Regions from separate parts of the Homo sapiens genome. Here regions 2, 3 and 4 are each linked to region 1. Evidence: promoter capture Hi-C in 16 types of primary human blood cells and fetal thymus (Javierre and others, 2016). All regions are on one chromosome and are shown on one strand. Each heading gives the region's core, a stretch centred on a gene start or on the middle of the fragment in contact. The rest is flanking DNA. Distances are from core to core; before and after follow the strand shown. Region 1 holds the start of CNTN5 (contactin 5). Region 2 has its middle 110 kb from the start of ARHGAP42. Region 3 has its middle 200 kb from the start of LINC02553. Region 4 has its middle 340 kb from the start of LINC02713.

What was found. The method cuts DNA at HindIII sites, captures the fragments that hold promoters and counts their contacts. A CHiCAGO score of 5 or more calls a contact.
Region 2: a fragment that was not itself captured here is called in contact with the fragment with the promoter of CNTN5 in region 1 in 1 of 17 cell types (endothelial precursors); the score reaches 5.4 in endothelial precursors.
Region 3: a contact is called between a fragment that was not itself captured here and the fragment with the promoter of CNTN5 in region 1, in 1 of 17 cell types (endothelial precursors). The highest score is 5.1, in endothelial precursors.
Region 4: a fragment that was not itself captured here is called in contact with the fragment with the promoter of CNTN5 in region 1 in 1 of 17 cell types (megakaryocytes); the score reaches 5.7 in megakaryocytes.

Annotation. Positions count from the first base shown.
Region 1 is chr11:99,019,624-99,022,411 of GRCh38, reverse strand. CNTN5 (contactin 5) reads right to left here and starts at 1,463. Exons shown (of 25, transcript NM_014361.4): 1 at 1,142-1,463. The HindIII fragment of the contact is 2,136 bases long and covers 998-2,788 here.
Region 2 is chr11:100,572,938-100,575,637 of GRCh38, reverse strand. No RefSeq gene overlaps it. Among named protein-coding and RNA genes, the nearest start is that of ARHGAP42, 110 kb to the left of the region's middle. The HindIII fragment of the contact is 8,040 bases long and covers 1-2,700 here.
Region 3 is chr11:97,462,568-97,465,267 of GRCh38, reverse strand. No RefSeq gene overlaps it. Among named protein-coding and RNA genes, the nearest start is that of LINC02553, 200 kb to the right of the region's middle. The HindIII fragment of the contact is 3,822 bases long and covers 1-2,700 here.
Region 4 is chr11:97,614,639-97,617,338 of GRCh38, reverse strand. No RefSeq gene overlaps it. Among named protein-coding and RNA genes, the nearest start is that of LINC02713, 340 kb to the left of the region's middle. The HindIII fragment of the contact is 191 bases long and covers 1,306-1,496 here.

The sequences.
Region 1 (2,788 bases), core at 214-2,713:
AATACTGAGAGTCACAATATTAATCATAATGAACTCCTTTAAGCTCCCTGTAATGGTCATAAGTACTTCTGTAATTCTGTTGCAATTCAACAGTAATCGATGATATCTGCATTAATTTTTAAATTTGACTATTTGTCTATAATTTTAAATGCTAGTATTCTAATGAACATCTACTTCTTTCATCCTTATTTCCACAGTCGTAATTGAGAATCAAAGTAGAAGTATTGACCCTCTAAATGATTTTCTCTTTTAAATTAAGAAACAAATGAATGAAATGTAGGTAAGGCATTGAACATACAACAGTTTAAAAGTTTTTTGCTTCTCACCTGCATTTAAATTACCACATGAAATTGTATTTTTCTTGGGAGAACAGTTCTAAGATTTAAAAGTAATATAATTCTAAAATATTTAGTGGATTCTGGTTCTTTCGCAAATAAATATAGTTGAAACAACTTATTGTTCAGGTCATCAGAGTAATTCTCAGGTTTGTGTATGTGCAAATTGATATTCTCTTCCGTATATCTCCCTACAAAACATGGTAAGGATGTCTGAACATAATTTTTTAATCTATCACAATCCTATACAACCTTTAGAAAAAAGCTCAGCATAATCCAAGATACAGTTTTTCTCAGTCTCACGAACTTTGTAGAACTCCACTTATAGAGCATCCCTACTGAATTTTAACAAGTTATTGCAATGCCAGATGCCCAATTATTTAGTCTCGGAAACTCATTGCTCAAACATAAGGCATACATTCAGTACCTGAGAACGGCATCCTATTTTCCAAACATTTAGTTTCTTTTGTAGAAACATCCTCACTTTATCCTGGCATTTATTGCCTTACAATTTGCAATTTGCGTGTAGGAATTGCTTACTCTTATTTTGGGTGGCATTAGGAGATATACAAATAGGTTATATTTACTCTTGTTTCAACTTTTTGCCATAAAATCCCAGCAGGAAATAAAGTCGTGTTTTGTTTCCTTTATTTAAAAAAGCTTCATCTTACAGTTTTTACATTCTGGCAACATGGCAAGAAAGGATGGCTTTGCAGAACAGAGTGTGTCAAAAATCCTAAGTGGCTGGGAGATGAAGTGCACAATCACAGAACGCAGTCACTGGCAAAGGAATGTCAGCCACTTACCAATAAGATGCCAGACTCCACTGTCCTTCCTCTGTGACTCTCAATTCCTGTCTCCCATCCTCCTGCCCATCAGCACAGTTCAGAGAGAGCGGTTCCTCGGGTCCTTTGCAGCCTGTGGCAGAGGCGAATTGCGGAGTTCTTAATCATTCAGAGGGAATCCTCCAGCTTGCCCTGCCTCTCGCAGCAGACGGGACCCAGGTAACGCATCCTCTCCGCCCCGAGCTTTAATGGCACTTTGGCTGCCGCCTTCTCGCAGTTCCGCTCCCCCACGCCGTAGTTGGTTATATTGGGAAGTAGGTGCGGCGCCTCCTGCGGCTGGTGTGTTTGGGGCTCGCGTGTTTTCCTCCAATGCGTCCGCGCGCCCTGCGCCCCGCGCCTCTGACTGGCTGTGTCCTCCCGGGGCGGCCCCTCGCCCCTCCCCGGCCGCCCGCGCTGTCACCGGCGCCCGCGTCCAGCGCCTCACTGCCTCTTGCTGCAAAGGTTCATTGAGCATGTCCCTGGGCTTAACGAACTGTGCGCCTCCCGGAGGGTGCTCTGTGTTTCTCCACTCGTCTCACTAGTCAACCGGCATTTTCCTTCCCTGCTAAGTACAGAGGACCTGCCCCCCTTCCCCGAGCGTTTCTGCTCTGCAACCCCTCCGTATTTAACATTCATAGATTACAAAGCAAACGTGCTGGCTGGAGTCGGCACGGGAGATCCAGGCGAGAGTCCCTTCCTCCGCTCCTGTCTTCACTCTGATTCCTGTAGTCCCCGGCTCACACCTCTGACAGCAGCAGCACAGACTGACGCGTTCACTTAGGTCGGTTTGAGAGTGGACTTTTTCACTTTGCAGAATTTTCTTAAGTCCTGAATGGGAAGCACTTCTCTTTTGTTTCTGCACTTACGCGTTTCATCTAAGGACTATCAGGCTCTGCCTGTTTATATTTCTCTTTGATTTGGGGTGTTGACTCAGTTCTAAAAAAAAGCGAAGGAATGGTCTCAGCAACCTTTTTTTCGGAATTTTTATATTACAATGGCTGTAATTGGAAAAATAACACAGGTAGTAAATCCACAGTGTGGCAGCTTTAGTGCCATTGTTCTGCCAGTCCTCCTCTCTACTTTTTTTTTTTTTTTCCTCTCAGTCTTTGAGTCGTTTTCCAATTCCCACGATTGGGCTGATGGTAATTGGGTATTTGTTAAATAAATTATATAACATTTCCTTTGCAATATATTTCCATAGAGAATGTGGTTTGCACCTGTATTTAATGGAAAGGAAATCCCACGTACTGCTTTCTATCTCTGTGTCTGTATAAGAAACTGCATGGGAGTCTAGGGTCGCACCCCGTGTCCGCTGGTGTCCGTTTTTCATGTGTGTTTGAGAGCAGCCTGACCCTGGACTGACGCTGATTCTTCTGCTCACTGAATCCCCCGATGGGGTCTGACTGGCTCTAATTGGCAAGGAGAGTACAGTGCCAGGCAGCCTGTAGCTGGAAGCCGTCTACCACTAGCCCTGTGTTCTTTCTCTTGCAGTTTTTCTGGTAATTAAAATTAGTCTTTTCCTGTTTCTTGGCTGCTTCTCATTCATCCAATGATGTACAAACACCCAGTCTCTGCTTTTAATCGCTATCCTCAGGATCTAGGCTGATTGCTTGTTCTGTAGCAAAGACA
Region 2 (2,700 bases), core at 146-2,645, 1.6 Mb before region 1:
CTGAAATACTCAAAAACACACAGAAACAACTCAACATGCTTTTCCCACAAGATGTCACTGTGGTACCTATGAAATACAGTCATAGATGTATTTATCTTTCCATGACCTTATTTTTTAAGAAATGATCAATTAAAAAAGATTCACATATGGATAGATGATCCTGAAATTAAATACACACAAAATAAGTAAATTTATAGATGTTCAATATCTACTACTTATGCATGACAGCAAACATATTTATTTGGATATATATTGAAATCTTAACTATATGCATCCAAAGGGAATATAAAACTGGCAATCTAAGAATATATGCAAGGTTGTAGTCAAGATTATTCATTCTTAGACAAATACCATAAAATATGACATGTCACTCACAGTGAGACTCACCTCACCAAGTATGTGATACACTTATGGGTGGTTACAGATTGTCTAGATATTTAATATGCATGATTTTTGATTGACTAACAACTGGCAAATTTGCCTGTGCTTGCTTTCTGTTTTAAGTGAGCCTGAAGTTAAGAGCCAAGCAGTCAGATAGACCAGAGTTCAAAATCCAGCTCAGCCACCTGTATAACCTCTGGCAAGTTAATTAAACTCCCTGAGTCTGCTTTCTAATTTATAAAATGGGGATGGTAATATCTATCTCATTGCAGTTGCTGGGAGAGTAAATCGAGACAATGCATGTAAGGCACCCAGCACAGAAGAGATACTCAATAAATAATTGTTGTCATTATTAATTCCAAGAGGGAAGTGTTAATTAGAATCAGATTTTAATGTTTGATCACAGGCCTTAGCATATGAAATGCCTGAGTTTGGTTTACAGATATGGAATTCCTGTGTAATATAATTCAAGCATATACAAACATTTAAACACTTGCAATAACTGATATTATATAATTACCTCTAATCAAGGTTTTTTTCTTTTCTTTTTTCTTTTTTTTTGAGAGAGAGTCTCGCTCTGTCACCCAGGCTGGAGTGCAATGGCACGATCTCAGCTCACTGCAACCTCTGTCTCCCAGGCTCAAGCAATTCTCCTGCCTCAGCCTCCCGAGTAGCTGGGATTACAGACGTGTGCCACCATACTTGGCTAATTTTTGTATTTTTAGTAGAGACGGGGTTTCACCATGGTGGCCAGGCTGGTCTCAAACTCCTGACCTCAGGTGATTTGCCTGCCTTGGCCTTCCAAAGTGTTGGGATTACAGGCATGAGCCACCATGCCCAGCTTTTTTTTTTCTTTTCTTTTCTTTTTTGTAAAATCAATTATTTGTTTGAAGAGTAAACACAAGTCTGGCCTTGCTTTTTGGAATGATTCTCTTCTGCTGGTTACCGTAAGTGAAATTTGACTTAAGTTTGGCAGCTGCGCATAGTTAAATATCATTTGGCCAATTGTTGGCCAAACTGGGGGATTTCCTCTCATCCTCTTGTGTTAATCCCTTCATGTTGTATTGTATTGTTCTCCTATTTTTAAGCCTTCAGTAGCTCCCCAAGGCTCTGAGGATAAAGTACAAATATGGCAGACATCTGCAGCTTGCCCAGTCAGTGTAATCAGCCTCAGATGTTACAGCCGGAATGTTCTTGCTACCAGCTCATGAGCTACTCTTAAAAAATGAGGAGTCTGAGAGCCAGGAGCCTATAATAACTTGCCCAAAGTCGTGCTGCTCCTAAATGACAGTGCTAAGACTAGAATCCAAGTGTTCTCACTCACTGGCTCTAGTCCTAAATGAGGAGGACACCTTAATCCCAGAAGAAAGGGTTGTTTTCTTCAACTCAACTGCTGTTAAAGACCTAAACCAGATTGGGCCAATGAGGAACTGCAGAGTAGTACTTGCTCATCCTAAGCAGTTGGCTTATGCCAAACAGTAAGATGTTTCAAAGGTCATAAGAAATCCTTTTTGTTTGATATGTCCCATCTATTAAAATTAAAATTTTATTTTTTTCTCACAAGTTTTGAATGGGACAACTAAGTAAAATAAAATAGTATAACATTGCTAATCATTTCTACAGCGTGAGTTGGTTTGTGGACCACTCTGAGGTCTACAGTCCTTTCATGCTGATGGGGACTCTGTGCTACACTAGAAGCAGCAGAGACGTGTTGCGGTAGACCTTTGCTTCTCAAAAGTGTGATCTGCAGGCCAACAGCATTCGTTTCACCTGCCAGCTCATTTGAAATGCAGAATCCCAGGCTTCACCCAGACTTCTTCTTTTTTTTTTTTTTCTTTTTGAGGTGGAGTCTTTCTCTGTCGCCCAGGCTGGGGTGCAGTGGCGCCATCTCAGTTCACTGCAATCTACGCCTCCCAGGTTCGAGTGATTCTCCTGCCTCAGCCTCCCGAGCAGCTGAGATTACAGCCATGTGCCACCACACCTGGCTGATTTTTGTATTTTTAGTAGAGACGGGGTTTCACTACATTAGCCAGGTTGGTCTCGAACTCCTGACCTCAGGTAATCAACCCGCATCAGACTCTCAAAGTGCTCGGATTACAGGCGTGAGCCACCGTGCCTGGCCCTCACCCAGACTTCTTAAATTAGAAGCTGCATTTTAACAAGATTCCCAAGGGATTTGTGTGAACACTAAAGTTTAAGGAGCACCGTCTTAGGCACTACATGAAAGAGCCCCATGAAAGCAGAATGCTGTTTGGATCCTGTCTTGATGCTCTGGCGGATTTTGCCCCAGGAAGCATGCAAACTCCTTGGCACAGCTAT
Region 3 (2,700 bases), core at 127-2,626, 1.6 Mb after region 1:
CTAAGAATTGTGCTTTAATTTGAAACTCGTCCTACCCATCCTCCTTTCTTTCCCTTGTCCTTGCACAGGTATCAGACCTACATCATATCCTGAGTTCCCCTGATTGACTTATCCTTTATAGAAATCACCCCCTTTAAATCTCTTGCATGTTGTGTTAGTCCACTCTCATGCTGCTAATCTACAACTACCCAAGACTGGATAATTTATAAAGAAAAGAGATTTAATTGACTCACAGGTCAGCCTGACTCAGGAGGCCTCAAGAAACTTACAATCATGGCAGAAGGGGAAAAAAACACATCCTTCTTCACATGGCAGCAGCAAGGAGAGGTACATAGCAAAGTTGGGGGTAAAGCTCCTTATAAAACCATCAGAACTTGGAGAACTCACTATCACAAGAACAGAATGGAGGTAACCACCCTCATGATTCAACTACCTCCTGCTGAATCACTTCCATGACATGTGGGGATTATGGGAACAACAATTCAAGACGAGATTTGGGTGGGGTCATAGAGCTAAACCATATTATTCCACCCCTGGCCCCTCCCAAATCTCATGTCCTCACATTTCAAAACACAATTACGTCTTCCCAACAGTCCCCCAAAGTCTTAACTCATTCCAGCATTAGCTCAAAAGTCCAAGTTCAAAGTCTTATCTGAGACAAGGCAAGTCCATTCTGCCTATGAGCCTGGAAAATCAAAAGCAACTTAGTTACTTCCTAGATAAAATGGAGGTACAGGCATGGGGTAAACACACACATTCCAAATGGGGGAAACTGGCCAAAAAAGAGGGGCCACAGGCCCCAGGCATGTCTGAAATCCAATAGGGCAGTCATTAAACCTTAAAGTTCCAAAATGATCTCCTTTGACTCCATGTCTCATATCCAGGTAATACTGATGCAAGAGGTGGGGGCTCCCATGGCCTTCAACAGCTCCACTCCTGTGGCTCTTCAGGGCATAGCCGCACACTGGGCTGATTTCATGGGCTGGCATTGAGTGTCTACAGCTTTTCCAGGCATCCAGTGCAAGCTGTCAGTAGGTCTACCATTCTGAGGTCTGGAGGACAGTGGCCCTCTTCTCATGGCTCCACTAGGCACTGCCCCACTGAAGACTGTGTGGAGGCCCCAACCCCACATTTTCCTTTTGCACTGCCCTAGCAGAGATTCTCCATGAGGGCTCCGCCCCTGTAGCAAACTTCTGCCTGGACATCCAGGTGTTTTCATATGTCCTCTGAAATCTGCAACCTCAATTCTTGTCTTCTGCACACCTGAAGGACCAATACCATGTGGAGCTGCCAAGGCCTGGGCTTGCACTTTCTGAAGCCATAGCCCAAGCTGTACCTTGGCCCTTTTTAGCCATGGCTGGAGTGGCTGGGACACAGTCCTGAGGCTACACACAGCAAGGGGGTTCTGAATCTGGCCCAGGAGACCATTTTTCCATCTTAGGCCTCTGGGCCTGTGATGGGAGAGGCTGGTGTAAAGGTCTCTGACATCTCCTGAAGACACATTCCCCAGTATCTTGGTAATTAACATTCTGCTTCTGATTACTTATGCAAATTTCTGCAGCTGGCTTGAATTTCACCCCAGAAAATGAGCTCTTATTTCCTACCACATGGTCAGGCTGAAAATTTTCCAAACTTTTATGCTTGATTTCTTCTTGAATGCTTTGCCACTTCAAAATTTCTTCTGCCAGATACTCTAAATCATCTCTCTCAAGTTCAAAGTTCCATAGATCTCTAGGGCAGGGGCAAAAGGCTGCCAGTCTCTTTGCTAAAGAAAGAATCACCTTTACTCCAGTTCCCAACAAGTTTCTCATCTCCTTCTGAGACCACCTCAACCTGGACTTCATTGTCCATATCACTATCAGCATTTTGGTCAAAGCCATTCAACAAGTCTCTACTAAGTTCCAAACATTCCCATATTTATATTTATTATTAGCTCACCAAGTCTCTAGGAAGTTCAGAAGTTTCCCAAATTTTCCTGTCTTCTTCTGAACCCTCCAAACTGTTCCAACCTTTGCCTGTTTCCCAGTTCCAAAGTGACTTTCATACTTTTTGGTATCTTTACAGCAGTGCCTCACTCCCTGGTACCAATTTAGCATATTAGTCTGTTCTCATTCTGCTAAGAAAGAACAGTCTGAGACTGGGTAATTTTTAAAGGAAAGAGGTTTAATTGGCTCACAATTCAGCATGGCTGGGGAGGCCTCTGGAAACTTACAATCACGGTGAAAGGGGAAGCAAACATGTCCTTCATCACATGGTGGCAACAAGGAGAAGTGCAGATGAAAGCGGGGGAAAGCCCTTATAAAACTATCAGATCTCATGAGAACTCACTCACTATCACAAAAACAGCATGGAGGTAACCATGCCCATGATTCAATTACCTCCCACTGGGTCCCTCCCATGACACATCTGGTTTATGGGAACTATAATTCAAGATGAGATTTGGATGGGGACACAGCCAAACCATATCACATGTCTAATTCCATTTTGGCACATACTTCTTGGAAGACTGAAGTGACATCATCTTCTAAGTTTTAATGATAATAGGAAGGAGAAGTTAGTGGAACATAAAGCCATTTTGTGAAAAATTGAGATCTTCAGAGCATAAAGCAGCTCAACAGGGAGGAACTTAGGGACATAACATTTTACCCCCGATTTCTTCCCTCATTTCTGACAATTCCCAATGGCAGAAGCTCACTGAAG
Region 4 (2,700 bases), core at 152-2,651, 1.4 Mb after region 1:
AGTTTTGTAATAACTTAATTTGTTCTATCTCCGGTTCCAAGATGTTATAGGACCAACAGGTTTGTAAGCCTGCTGTGCAGTAACAGACCAATTACACTGAGACAGCAGGGATGCAGCAGAGAAAGAGTAATGATTACAGGGTGCCAAGTGAGAAAATGGGACAAGACTCTCAAATCCATCTCCTGAGGAGCTCTGTGCTGAGATTTTTAAGATCACGGAGGGTGGAGGACTAGAAAATTGAGATTGTTGATTGGTTGTGGTAAGGAGGATGAAATCTTCGGAATATAGAAACTGTATTCTTTGGTTAGTCACCTCCTCATGGAGTCCTTCAGATCAGTTGCTGTCAGTGGGGACCTTAAGATCAGCTTGAGTTAGTAGTTTCTTCAGTATGCAGGACCTGAAAGAATATCACAAAGAGGAAACTTTATGTTTTGTAATATTCAAGTTGTTATTTATAGAACAGTTAAGGAAAATTATAATTTAGGGTCCATGTGATACTAGGACAACAGGCACCAAACAACTATGAGGAAGCAGATCAGAGGGAAAGCCGACCTAATGATTAATGCTGAATGTGCTGCAACCTTGCTCTATTTTTGTCTCTCTCCCTCTCTTCTTCCCTGATTATTATTATTATTATTTTTGAGACAGGGTTGGTCTTAGTCTGTCACCCAGGCTGGAGTGCAGTGGTACAATCATGGCTCACTGCAGCCTCAACTTCCTGGGCTCAGGTGATTCTCTCACTTCAGCCTCCTGAGTACCTGGGACAAGAGGTGTGCATCACCACACCTGGCTAATTTTATTTGTAGAGACAGGCTTTTGCCACATTGCCCAGGCTGGTATTGAACTCCTGAGCTCAGGAGTTCATCCTCCTTGGCCTCCCAAAGTGCTGAAATAACAGACATGAGCCACCACACCTGACCCCCTAATTAATTTTATAGTTTATAGGGACAGTTTCAATGATAGCCTTGAAAATCAACATCCTGCAATCATGTTGAAAACCAAAAGCTTGGAAACCAATGAAAGGGTATAATGATGTTGGAGATTCTTCAAAGCACCATTTCCAGAGAATTGTCCTTGTTTGACTTATCTGGTGGCTCCCTGGAAGCGCACACTTTCAGGGTTTCCTGACTCAGGTCTTTATTTGACCTGACTTGGAGCTTGCCCAGTACTAACAGCCTTTTCTGTAGGCACATTGGTTGAAAATAATTAGTGGCAATTTTTAAAATATCATTCGGCATGACCTGAGGTTATAAATAAAAGTTTGGGCAAACAATAGGCTAATCTAAAAGCTTAAAAGTGAAAGCTTGGTCATGACAAGTTTATATGGGCTTTAATGAGCAGCTACTTATTGCTGGTTATCTATAAGGCCACATGCATATATAGGGATTTATACATGCCCATAATGATGCATCTGTTCAGAAAATAAGTGAGAATGCCCTGATCTCTCACATCTGGCTCCTAGAGACTCTGCACAAATAGAAAGGAAAGGCCAAGCTTCATTGCTGATTGCTCACAGTATGCTTCAACATGAACACAGAGCCACTCGGTAAAGACAAAGAGATGTATTTTTCTTCCAGGCATTTAAGGAAATTACTATCCATTTATTAGCTGACCACTAGGCCAACAAAGTAGACGTCAGTGCCAAGACAGAATACAAACATTAGAGAATTCCGGAACTCACTAAGCAAGCGAATACAACAAAAAAACCAGAAACAACAACATAACTTGGGAAGGGAAGAGAATATGATTTCTAGAGTTACCACACTATATTATTTAGAATGTCCAATTTTCAACTACAAGCAAAACATTCAAATAAACAAAGTATGTTCGACACAAGGGAAAAAGCAGTAATTATACACTGTCACTGAGAAAACTCAGTGGACTTATTAAAGAAAGGCTTAAAATCAACTATTAAAAATATTCAAAGAACAAATGAAAATCATTTCTCAAGAACTAAAGGAAAGCATAAGAACAATGTGTTTGTTACCCAGAAAGACTATAGAGATTAAAGTGCTTTTAAAAAGAGAAAAATTAATTTCTGGAGTGAAAAATTCAGTAAATAAAATTACAAATGTACTAGTGTGGCTCAGCAGCAGATTTAGGCAAGAAGAAGAATGAATCAGAAAACTTGAAAGTATAACAATTATGTTATCCAGCCTGAAGGAGGAAAGGTAAAAATAATATAAACATAAGATAAACTGAGCCTCAAAAACCCGAGAGCCACCATCAAGTGTACTGACATATGCATAAAGGAAGACACAGAAAAAATGAAGAGATAAAGAGACAGAAAAAAATATTTGAGAAAAACAACTGCTGAAAACGTTAATCTATTCATCAAAGAAGCTCAATGAAATTTGATTGGATGCCATCAAATAGATCTCACCCAGAAACATTATAACAAACTGTTAAAAGACACTGATAAACAGAAATCCTGCAAGCAGCTGGGAGAAACAACTTATCACATACAACGGACTCTCAATAGAATTTGCAGCCAATATGTCTTCTAAAAACCACAGAGAGCAAAGGGCAATAAAATGGCATCTTAAAAACGCTGCAAAAAAAAAAATGACTACACATGAAGAATTCTATAATCAGAAAAATTATACTTCAGAATGAAGGAAAAATTGAGTCACTTCTACATAAATAAAAACAAAGAAGTCATCATTCAGATATGCCTTACAAGAAATACTAAAGGTATCA